Linked DNA regions of Homo sapiens: region 2 is linked to region 1. Evidence: promoter capture Hi-C in human tissues and cell types (Jung and others, 2019). All regions are on one chromosome and are shown on one strand. Each heading gives the region's core, a stretch centred on a gene start or on the middle of the fragment in contact. The rest is flanking DNA. Distances are from core to core; before and after follow the strand shown. Region 1 holds the start of CLDN11 (claudin 11). Region 2 overlaps SLC7A14-AS1 (SLC7A14 antisense RNA 1).

Evidence for each region. Contacts are between HindIII fragments. The study calls those that stand out against the background at their distance.
Region 2: a contact is called between a fragment that was not itself captured here and the fragment with the promoter of CLDN11 in region 1, in 2 of the 25 tissues and cell types used here (adrenal gland and mesendoderm cells).

Annotation. Positions count from the first base shown.
Region 1 is chr3:170,416,829-170,422,229 of GRCh38, reverse strand. It overlaps CLDN11 (claudin 11), which reads right to left and starts at 3,362. Exons shown (of 3, transcript NM_005602.6): 1 at 2,938-3,362. The coding sequence starts at 3,163. RefSeq lists an enhancer at 2,662-3,614. The HindIII fragment of the contact is 16,199 bases long and covers 1-5,401 here.
Region 2 is chr3:170,650,291-170,655,691 of GRCh38, reverse strand. All of the region lies in intron 2 of SLC7A14-AS1 (SLC7A14 antisense RNA 1), which reads right to left. It also overlaps the pseudogene RPL28P1. Among named protein-coding and RNA genes, the nearest start is that of SLC7A14, 67 kb to the right of the region's middle. The HindIII fragment of the contact is 4,972 bases long and covers 761-5,401 here.

The sequences.
Region 1 (5,401 bases), core at 2,113-4,612:
GATTTTCTCCTAACCATGTGCTTTCATTCACATTGGCTGTGGCCCTAACCCAGACTAAACTAAGACTCAGGCTTCCTCTCTTTGCTGTCTCCCCAGAGGCTGCTGTCCTCATGGATCCTGCCCCTAAATTGTTGGACCCCATCTCCTGCCTCACCCACAGTGCCCTGGGCATCCTTCCCCAACTGTCCATCATTGCTTAAAAGGCATCTCTCCAGCCCTCAGGGTTCCTGGAGGGCAGACACCTGCCTTGGTATTCACGGAGTTAACACAGTGCCCACAACAGATCATGGAAACAATTGCGAATCAAGGAATAAGAGAACTGAAAAATAGAAGAGTAGAGCAAAACTACATGAACTTTATCCTGTCAAGTAAAATGCCAAGTAAAAACTGTATTAAGAAACAGATTACAATATGTGTCACATTTATTTAGAATAAATCTGACAAGATACTGGGAGAATTTCACAGACAAATTTGTTTCACTTTCAAATGTAATGTTTCTCATTAAAACTCTCCCTCCTCTTAAAAAAGGTGGGGGGGGTCACATTTATTACCCTCCCTTTTTTGCTCAGAAGGAACTAGTACTAGTGGCCTGGGTGAGGCAGAGTTCATAGCAAAGCCAGGAATCTAGCCGACATCTGCCTCACACACCACGACCCTCACGTGCAAAAAGGCCTAACTTCAACGCTGTCTCTTAGCAAGGAACGTTTTGCCAGAATTCGGACTTCACAAGGGCCCTCTTCCAGCACTGCCCATCTCAGCTCCTTCAGAATTAAAGATAATCAGTCAAGTGTCTACTGACTTGAAGATCTCCAGAAAGGAGCTCCAGGAAGTCTGAGGCCCATCCCCTGACCCAGCCGTCCGCCTCTGCGGCTTGTAGAGAGCCAGTACTCACACAAAGCAGGCAGTCAACTGGCAATGCAGGTTCTGAAATCCATGGCACTGGCTGTCCACATGCTACAGTGCCAAGGCCATGTCCGGACACCAAAAGATAGGGACAGAGGACTGTTCCTGCCTCCACCCAAAGTATGAGGGAGGGGGAAGGCAGGAAGGACTAGCGCCGCCCCCCACCCCCCCCCCACCCCCAGAGTATGCACTCCCCTCTGGAGGACAGCCTTTGTTCTCTGAAAACAAACCACTTGGCACTGAATGCTCAGTAAAGTTAATTTCAGGAGAAGAAAACAAAGTTAATTTTATGCTTCAAAGATCCCTACAAATACCATGCCCAGCTTTTAATAAAATACTATAGGTACCATTCATGAAGCATCTACTATCTCAAAGGAGATTACATTTCTTATCTCATTTAATCCTCAAATAATCGTGAAAGATGGGTGGTTGATCTGATTTTAACTTTTAAAAGAAGACAACCGTGGTTCACTGAGGCTAGCAATTTGTCCCCCCTCACCCAGATTGTGAGTCCTGGATGCCGGAGGCTGGCCCGGGTCTGCCAACACCAGCATTAGCCAAAGCTGAGTCTAGATCTGCGTTCGTTGACCTCTGGCCTTCTGAAAGTTCAAAATGAAGGAAAGGATAGCGTAAGGCAAACCAGGCAAGCACTGCCCGCAGCTATTGTGTGCCAGAGGCCATGCCAGGTCCAGAAGAGGAAGCAAAGAGAATAACAGGACGCCATCTCTATCTTCAAGGAATTTAAAACGTAGTGGGAGAACTTCACTCACGAACAATCAACAAAAAACAAGATAAAATGTGCCTTTGTGAGGATAAGAGCCAAGTACTAGGCAGCAAGGAGAAAGGAGGGATTCAGATTCCGACTGCGAGGACCGGAAATAGGGCGTGCTTGGAGGAGGCTTAAGGGGCGAGCACAGTCTTATCTGACTGGCGGCTTCAGGGACAGGTTTCTCCCCATCTTGAGGAAACCGGGAAAATCCTTTAAGTGAGCACAATCCACGAAGGCTGGGGGACAGAAGCCCACCTTGTAGGGACATGCCTTGGGGGTAGAGCAGAGATTCCAGCAGAAAACCAAGGGGGTGCCCGCGACCTCGCCATTGCCCAACCCATTGGTTTAAATCTGAATTGAGGCTGTCGCCCAAAATGTTTCCACAGGACACATGTGAAAATGTGGCCCCTGGCCGGCGCTAGGCTGTCAATTTTTACCTCCCCTTCCCAATCTGAGACACGCTGGAGGGGTGGCGGCGAGCGACCCTCGGCGGCGCGCTCCGTATCTCCCCAGTGGAGTCCGCCCTCCGAGGAGCGCCCGCTCGTCCCTATCCAACCCAGCGGCGCGGAGCGGGAGCCGGCGTCACCGCAGCCCCGCAGTCTGACGCGCCCACAGCAGGGGCGGGGGTAGCGGGGGCAGCGGAGATGGCCCTGGGCACGTGCGGGAATCAACGTGACATTTCCCAAACCAGGCAGCCCAGAGAGCCCTGGACGTGAATTGCTCAGCGGCTGCGCGGACGGAGCTAGGAGGGCTCTAACCTGGCCGGGGGCGCTTCGCCCATCCCATGAGGACCGAGAAACTCAGCCTGAGCCGGTTCGATTCTCCTGTCAGCTTGTGTTACACGCTCCTTCTCACCTCTGCGGGCGGAACCTAACGCGAAGGCTCGGCGCCCCGGGGGAGGCCGGGCGGGAGCGGGAAGCACTTCGGGAAGCGGACGGTGGAAGGATGCGGGCTGGGACCGCAGTAATTAACACGGACTCAGTTCCTATTAGGTGTTCCGGTTTGTTCATTCTCAAAGGGACCCGGCCAGTGTTACCACCGGCCACATTGCCACTATTATCTCAAATTCCAGATAAGAATACTGCGGCCTAGAGAAGTTAAGTTCGGGGCTGCCTAATTCTTTTACAACAAGGTGGGACTAGGGATGTCAAAAACGTACCCAAAGGTCTTCAAGCCCCCAAAATGTCTCTGTGACGCCGTCTAATATCCCGCTCTCTACCCAGAGGATAAGGATTTGGGAGCCGCCGCCAAGCTCGGGTCCTTACCCGGCAGGATGAGGATGTCCACCAGGGGCTTGCAGTGGTACAGCCCCGTGGCCATGACGCAGTCGGCCCACAGCCCCTTGGAGCCCAGCTCATCCAGCTTGCGGCAGGTGGGGATGGTGTAGCCGCAGGTCACCACCCAGTCATTGGTGGAGGTGGTCACGATGACCCCGATCCAGCCCACGAAGCTCGTGACGAAGCCCACCACCTGCAGGCACGTGGCCACCATGGTGGCCGCCAGGATGTCCCCGTGCCTCGCCCCTCACGGCTGTGCCTGGGCCTGGGCTGGACAGTGCCTGCCCAGGTACGTCTCCCACGCTCGCGAGCCGCTGGAGGGCGACGGCCCGAGGCGGGACACTGGAGGTGGAGGTGGGCGCCGGAGGCTGCGAGCTCAGCGGCGAAGGGCGCACGGCGGGGACAGCAGCGCTGCTGGGCAGCGCGCCCCCGCCCCCTCTTTAAGCCCCGCGGCTCCGGCCGGCGAGCACCAATCGGCGGCAGCCCCGGGGCGCGCCGGCCAATCGCGGGGCGGGGCCGGGAGGGAAGCGTGAAGGGGAGCAGAGTAACCCCAGGGGGGCCATTGGGCCGCCCCACCCCGTCCGCAGCGCAGTCCGGCGATGCAAAGTAAAACAATTCCATCCAGGTCCAGAGAAACGGAGAGCGCAAAGAGGGCGTGCGTTTGTCGAGAGTTCTGTTTTCCTGCGACTGGTTTCTCTTCTTATAGCCCCTCTCTCATCTCAGTCTCTGGGTGTCCATTCCGCTCCGACCCTCCTCAGCTCCTCCCTGCTCGCTCCTTCTTCCCTGCTGCGAGCACTCCAAGGGCGCTCGGTACAGTCCCCCGACGACCCAGGATTGTGACAGACTGAAAAGTGCAGTAGGGACAAACGCGAGGCATTCAGTACACACAGTTACTAGAAGAAAGAAAACGATGCTTTTCAGTGGTTGAACATCATCAGCGGCAAACGTGGCCATAATAATCAACAATAGCAACTCACATTTATCGAGCTGTGTTATATATTATGCAGATGCATTTTACATGCATTAGCTCATTTAATCCTCATAACAGCCTTTGAGGTAGGAACAATTGTCAATGACACATACTAGGCCGGGAGTGGTGGCTCACACCTGTAATCCCAGAACTTTGGGAGGCCAAGGTGGGCGGATCACCTAAGGTCAGGAGTTCGAGACCAGCCTGACCAACATGGTGAAACTCCATCTCTACAGAAAATACAAAAATGAGCCGGGCATGGTGGCGCATGCCTGTAACCCCAGCTGCTTGGGAGGCTGAGGCAGGAGAATAACTTGAAGGAGGTTGCAGTGCGCCAAGATCGTGCCACTGCACTCCAGCCTGGGCAACTGAGTGAGACAACGTCTCAAAAGCAAACAACAACAACAACAACAAATTACACGCACTAGCCATAGAGAAACAGCACAAGAAGGTTGAGTTGCCCAAGTTCACGCAGCTAGGAAGGGGTAGATACCATGGGCCCATCTCATCCCTTTCACGAACTGTTTCTAGGAAACTGTCCTGATCAGTCTGAAAATTCCTAAGGGGTTCATGTGTCCCATTTTAGACGCATTAAAAGCTACAGCAGACTTCTCTGGCTCACTGTAAATAAATTAATATCTGTACCCCACTGAGAAAACTGCCTAGCCCAGAATGAGCGCTCTGATAGTGTAAAGCTATCATCATCACCATCAACATCATTAAGCCACCATGCATACAAATAGGCCGCATTATTTGCACCTTTTTATTCAGATAGGGAAGTCTTCCTTGAGCTGCATTTACATTCAACAGTTTTCACTCCCTTTGAAACATTTGGCTTATCTTATTATCTCCTTCTATCCATTCCCTTGGACCACTGCCTCCTCACCAATCATGAGACTTAAAGGTGTGAGGATTTCAGAAAGCACAAAAACTTCCTGCTCAGCGTTCTAAAATCTAAGATACTAACCATAAATCATAGGTACTGAGCTTTCCCAAAGCCAGCCCTAATGCTGGTTATCAGTGCAATCACCATGTCTTCTAGGAAAGCCTGGACTTGAGGAGACAATTACATTTCCCTGGAGACCCCAAGGAAATCAAGTGCACACACAGAAATGGCTCTTGTAATTGATAGCAGAGTGTCAAGTACAAGGGTCACAGTAATCACCCAGGAAGCACAGTGACTAAGAACACAGTCCAACTGCCCAAGTTCAAATCTTGGCTCCATCACTTTCTGGCTGTGAGACCAAGTTACTTTATCATTCTTGGCCTCCTTTTCTCATTTGTAAAATAAGGATGAAAACTGTACCTACCTCATAGACTTTTTTTTTTATTCTGTGAGCTATTAGGTTGGTGCAAAGTATTAAACATAACGGCAAAAACCACGATTACTTTTATACCAACCTAGTAATATATATGCAGAACTTAAAGTAACATTGGTACAAAGTAAGTATTCAGAAACCCCTGGCTAATGTGATGCTTCAG
Region 2 (5,401 bases), core at 1,997-4,496, 230 kb before region 1:
ACCTGCTACATCCAGGCTAGACTGTAAATGTCTTCGGATGGGTAGCTGGTGCCAGGCACTCCTCCCTGTAACCACCCATAAAGACTGGCATGGAGCACATTTTCTTGCACACAGAAATCCTTGTACCATCAGCCTGTACCATATCCCCACTCTTCCACCCCCCAATCCCAACCTTCCAGGAGCGAAGGGGTGGAAACACTGATACTCCAGCCTCACCTGATCCAGCCTCATCATTCAGAGGGTAGGGAAATAAGACTCAATGTGCTTATGCCAAGATCAGATCTGCTTTGAGCCTGAGTTGCCTCAAGCAACTGAACGCCTCTCTGGCCTTGGGGCAGGTCTCTGGTCACTTACATAGAGGCCAAAAATCAAGTGCAAGCAGTAGGCAAGGCATGAAGTCAAAGTCAGATCATATGCAGGATGACAAGCGCCCAGTGGAACAACCATCGGCCTGAGTTGTGGTCTAGAGCTAAGATTGGACACCACCAGCAGCAAGGAGGTGGCAGCCAGTCAACCAATAGGTTCTAGGTGGTGAGGACGGAGCAGGGAACAAAATCACAGAAACCCTATCTTCCTGGAACCTACATTTCTCACTGAGAAGCAAAGGCTGGTGGCCCAACCCAAGTCTGAAGGGTTCACTGTGGCACAACGAGGCACTCAGACTCTGGGTTTGACTCCTCTTTGCCTCTTACATCTGTGTGACATTACGCAGGCCATTTACTTCTCCAGATCTCAATTTCCTCATCTGTAAAATGGGGTTAATAAGACCAGCAGCCTCAGTGGGCTGCGGCGAGGATTTTGTCAGTAAAGTAAAGCACTAAGAACAGCATGTGACTCACAGTAAGCAAGGTAAGAATTTCTTTGCTATTGTCCTGGACACTGCCCTTACAAAATTGCCAGGAGTGTGCAATGCTTGCACTGCAGAACATTTTAAAGAGGCCACCCAGGGCCTGCCAGCTTGTGTTCCATCAGTGGTGACAAATTTCTGCCTGGCCTCAGACAGGTCGCCAATTGTTCTCAGCCTCCATCCCCTTCCCCATTCCTGGGGTGGAAGAGGAGCAGATGATGCTGGCCCACTCAGGAGGTCCTAGGAGGCAATCTGAGGTCACCACAGAAGAGTCAAGGCAGGAGATTCCAGGCTAGCCATGGAAAGAGGTGGCAAGGCTTCATCTGGCAGGGTAAGCAGGAGCTCCGGGCTCACAGAGGTTACATATGCGCCTCTGAACATCTTGGGTGGCATCTGGAGCTGTTGTGTCATGATTTACTGAAAGCTGTACTTAAGTTAAATCAAGGTTGGAAAGGCTAATGAATGAACTCCTACCATTTAAAAAAAAAATAGTCGCCTTATTTTGATGAAGTTGGGATAGGAACAAGCAAGAAGAGTATCCAGCTCCTTCCGTCTCCGGCGTTCGCTGTGAGAGGAGCTGCCGCCATGTCTGCGCATCTGCAATCGGTGATCATGCGGAACTGCTCCAGTTTCCTGATCAAGAGGAATAAACACACCTACAGCACCGAGCCCAATAACTTGAAGGCCCGCAACTCCTTCCCGCTACAACCGGCTGATTCACTGCAAGACTGTGGGCGTGGAGCCGGCAGCCCATGGCAGAGGTGTCCTGGTGGTCACGAAGCGGAGATCCGGCCAGCGGACGCCTGCCATCTCCTACGTGCGGACCATCATCAACAAGAACGCTGGAGCCAAACTCAGCAGCATCAGATACATGATCCGCAAGAACAAGTACCGCCCTGACCTGCCATGGCTGCCATCAGCAAGGCCAGCGCCATCCTGCGCAGCCAGACGTCTGTGATGGTGAAGAGGAAGCTGACCAGCCCCACAAAGAGCTTGTGAGTTGCCTGCCCCCGAGCAATAGTCGGCTGGCTTTCTCACAAAAGGAAGAAGAAGAAGGAGGAGAAGGGAGAAAGGGGAAAGGGGAAAGGGGAAAGGGAAGGGGAAGGGGAAGGGGATGCAGTGTCCTGCAAAAAACTCAAGAAGACTTTTACTATTTGCGCTGATTTGTCATCCCCTAGGCATAGTCAGAAATAATATGAATGTCCGGCCACCTTGAAAGCCCTTGCAGTGTTTAGAAAATCTGTACTCTCCAATATGACAGCCACAAGCCACATGCGCCTATTGAGCACTTGAAAAGTGGCTCCTTGAGATATGCTGTATGTGTACACTCTGGATTCCAAGACTTAGTATGGAAAAAAAAATGTAAATATCTCATTAACAATTTTTATTGATTACGTATTGAAATACTAATATTTTCATATATTGGCTAAAATAAAATGTATTACTAAAATTAATTTCATCCATTTTTCTTTTTTTATGTGGCTACTAGAAAATCTACACATGGGGCTTGCTTGATATTTCTATTGGATGGTGAAGTTTAAACAGAGAATGGTGCTCATGGGGTCTGCCTTTCCCAGTGGTGCCAGCAAAAAGACTTTGCAGTGGAGAAAACCCTGGGCCAGGAGACTGCAGATCCAATTGATCACTTCACCTCAGCCACCAAGTTGCTGGATGGCTTTGGTAACAATAGTGATAGTAGCAAACACTTCCATAGTTTTTTATGTATATATGGAGGCCAGGTGCTGTTCTAAACATTTGACACATGTAAATTTCTCACTAAAACTCTATGAGATGATAGAAGCTATTATTAGCTCCATTTTCTGTATGTGGACACTGAGGTGTTAAGAGGTTAAATCACAAGCCCTAAGCTCACGACTGGAAATTGGTAGAGTTAGGATTCAAAGCCAGGCAGTCTGGTTCCAAGGTCTGTGTTGTAAACCACCTCTTACCTCAAGTAATCCAAACTCGCTTGGATTCAGTTTCTTCGTCTAAGAAACAAGGTTCAGAAGACGACAAGGGTGACCGCAGGCTGTGTAGATGTAAGCTGGCAGAAGCTTAGGAAAGGAAATTACATTGAAAGAGCTTCCCATCCACAAAGCTACTAAAACCCAAACCCAGTGCTTACAATAATGTCTTCCCAAATGCCCCCAAATGAAATTAACTTTTTCTCTTCTTATGCTTCATAACATTCTGATACATTACAGTCCTTCACACATCTTATCTTTCATTGCACACACACACACACACACACACACACACACACACACACACACACGTGTATATATATCCATTTCCTTCATTACTGTTCAGATTTTTTAAAGGCAGGCTGTCTTACAGATCAGTGCTTTTTAACTGGAGGTTAAAATTTTGCTCCCAGAGGACATTTGGTAATGTCTGGAGAAAGTTTTGATTAACACAACTTGTGAGGTTGGAGGTATGTTGCTACTATCATCTAGTGAGTAAAGATAAAAAATGCTGCTAAGCATCCTACAAAGCGCAGGACAGCCCCCTACAACAAAGAATTATCTGGGCCAAAATCTCCATACTTCCAAGAGTGAGAAACCCTGTCCTTCATTAGATCATTAGATGATCCATTGTGCCTAAAACATGCATGAAACAATAGGCACTCCATAAGTGACGAAAGATTGATTGATTGATTGATTGATTGATTGAAAGAATAATAAATACATATTCACCTATCTGCCCTGAATGTAACTTCCTTTTGGTTAGGCTCATCAAATATGTATTCAATGCCCACTATATGCCAGGCACATTCTAGGGCTGGGGGATAGGGGAATGCAAAGTTCTGAGGCACACGAGGCCCCTGTCCTCAGGGTAGGACAGTCTCCTAGGGGAGTCAGAGTCAAAGCAGTGTGTCAAACGTTAAGTGCCCTCAATCTCGCCAGCTCTGGACAGGAGCACCACACAGAAACTTTGTGAAGACAGATGACCCAGCCAATCCTGGAGATACTCATCATTTTTTCTCAATCTTTATTTTGAAAAATGTCAAACATACAGAAAATGTGGAATAACAGTACAATACACATATATATATACATAGTAACATTTAGATAGATAGATAGAGAAATATAAATACACACAAAATGCTTTGGAAAATAAGATGCAGACATTATGACCTCAGCCAAATACATCAGCATGCATAGGACAGACCTGCTGATTTAATCAGTCTGGAGTGGGGCCTTGGCATCACTAGTTTAAAAAATTCTCCATTTGGGTAAGGGCCAAGATAGCCGAATGGGAACAGCTCTGGTCTGCAGCTCCCAGCGAGACCAATGCAGAAGGCAGGTGATTTCTGTATTTCCAAATGAGGTACCAGTTCATCTCACGGAACTGGTTAGGCAGTGGATGCAACCCACAGAGAGCAAGCAGAAGCAGGGCGGGGCATGGCTTTACCTGGGAAGTGCAAGGTGGCAGGGGACCTGCCTCCCCCAGCCAAGGGAAGCCATGAGGGACAGTGCTACCCGCCCCGGGTACTATGCTTTTCCCACAGATCTTCGCAATCCACAGATCAATAGATTCCTTTGTGAGCCTACACCACCAGAACCCTGAGTTTCAAGCACAAAACTGGGTGGCTGTTTAGGCAGGCACTGAGCTAGCTGCAGGAGATTTTTCATATCCCAGTGGCACCTGGAACCCCAATGGGACAGGAGAACCGTCCACTCCCCTGGAAAGGGGCCTGAATGAAGTTAGGGAGCCAAGTGGTCTCACTCAGCAGGTCCCACTCCCACAAAGCCCAGCAAACCAAGAACCACTGGCTTGAAATTCTCACTGCCAGCGTAGAAGTCTGGAGTTGACCTGGGATGATGGAGCTTGGTGAGCAGAGGGGTATCCACCATCACTGAGGCTTTAGTAGGCAGTTTTCCCCCGACAGTGCGAAGGAGACTGGGAGGTTTGGACTGGGCAGAATTCACCACAGCATGGCAAAGTGGCTGTGGCCAGACTGCTTCTCTAGATTCCTGTCACCGGGCAGGGCATCTCTACAGGAAATGCAGCAGCCCCAGTCAGGGGCTTACAGATAAAACTCTCATCTACCTGGGACAGAGCACCTGGTGGGAGGGGCGGCTGTGGGCCCTGCTTCAGCAGATTTAATCTTTCCTGCCTGCTGGCTCTCAAGTGAGCAGCTGATCCTGACAAGGGAGATTCTCCCAGCACAGCACACCAGCTCTGCTAAGGGACAAACTGCCTCCTCAAGTGGGTCCCTGGCCTCCGTGCCTCCTGACTGGGAGAGACCTCCCAACAGGGGTCGACAGACACCTCATACAGGAGAGCTCCAACTGGCATCTGGCAGGTGCCCCTCTGGGATGAAGCTTTCAGAGAAATAAGCAGGCAGCAATCATTGCTGTTTTGCAGCCTCCACTGATGATACCCAGGGGAAGAGTGTCTGGAGTGGACCTCCAGCAAACTGCAGCAGACCTGCAGAAGAGGGGCCTGACTGTTAGAAGAAAAAATAACAAAGAGAAAGCAACAACAAAAACAACAAAAAAGACCCGCACACAAAAACCCTATTCAAAGGTAATCAGCCTCAAAGATCAA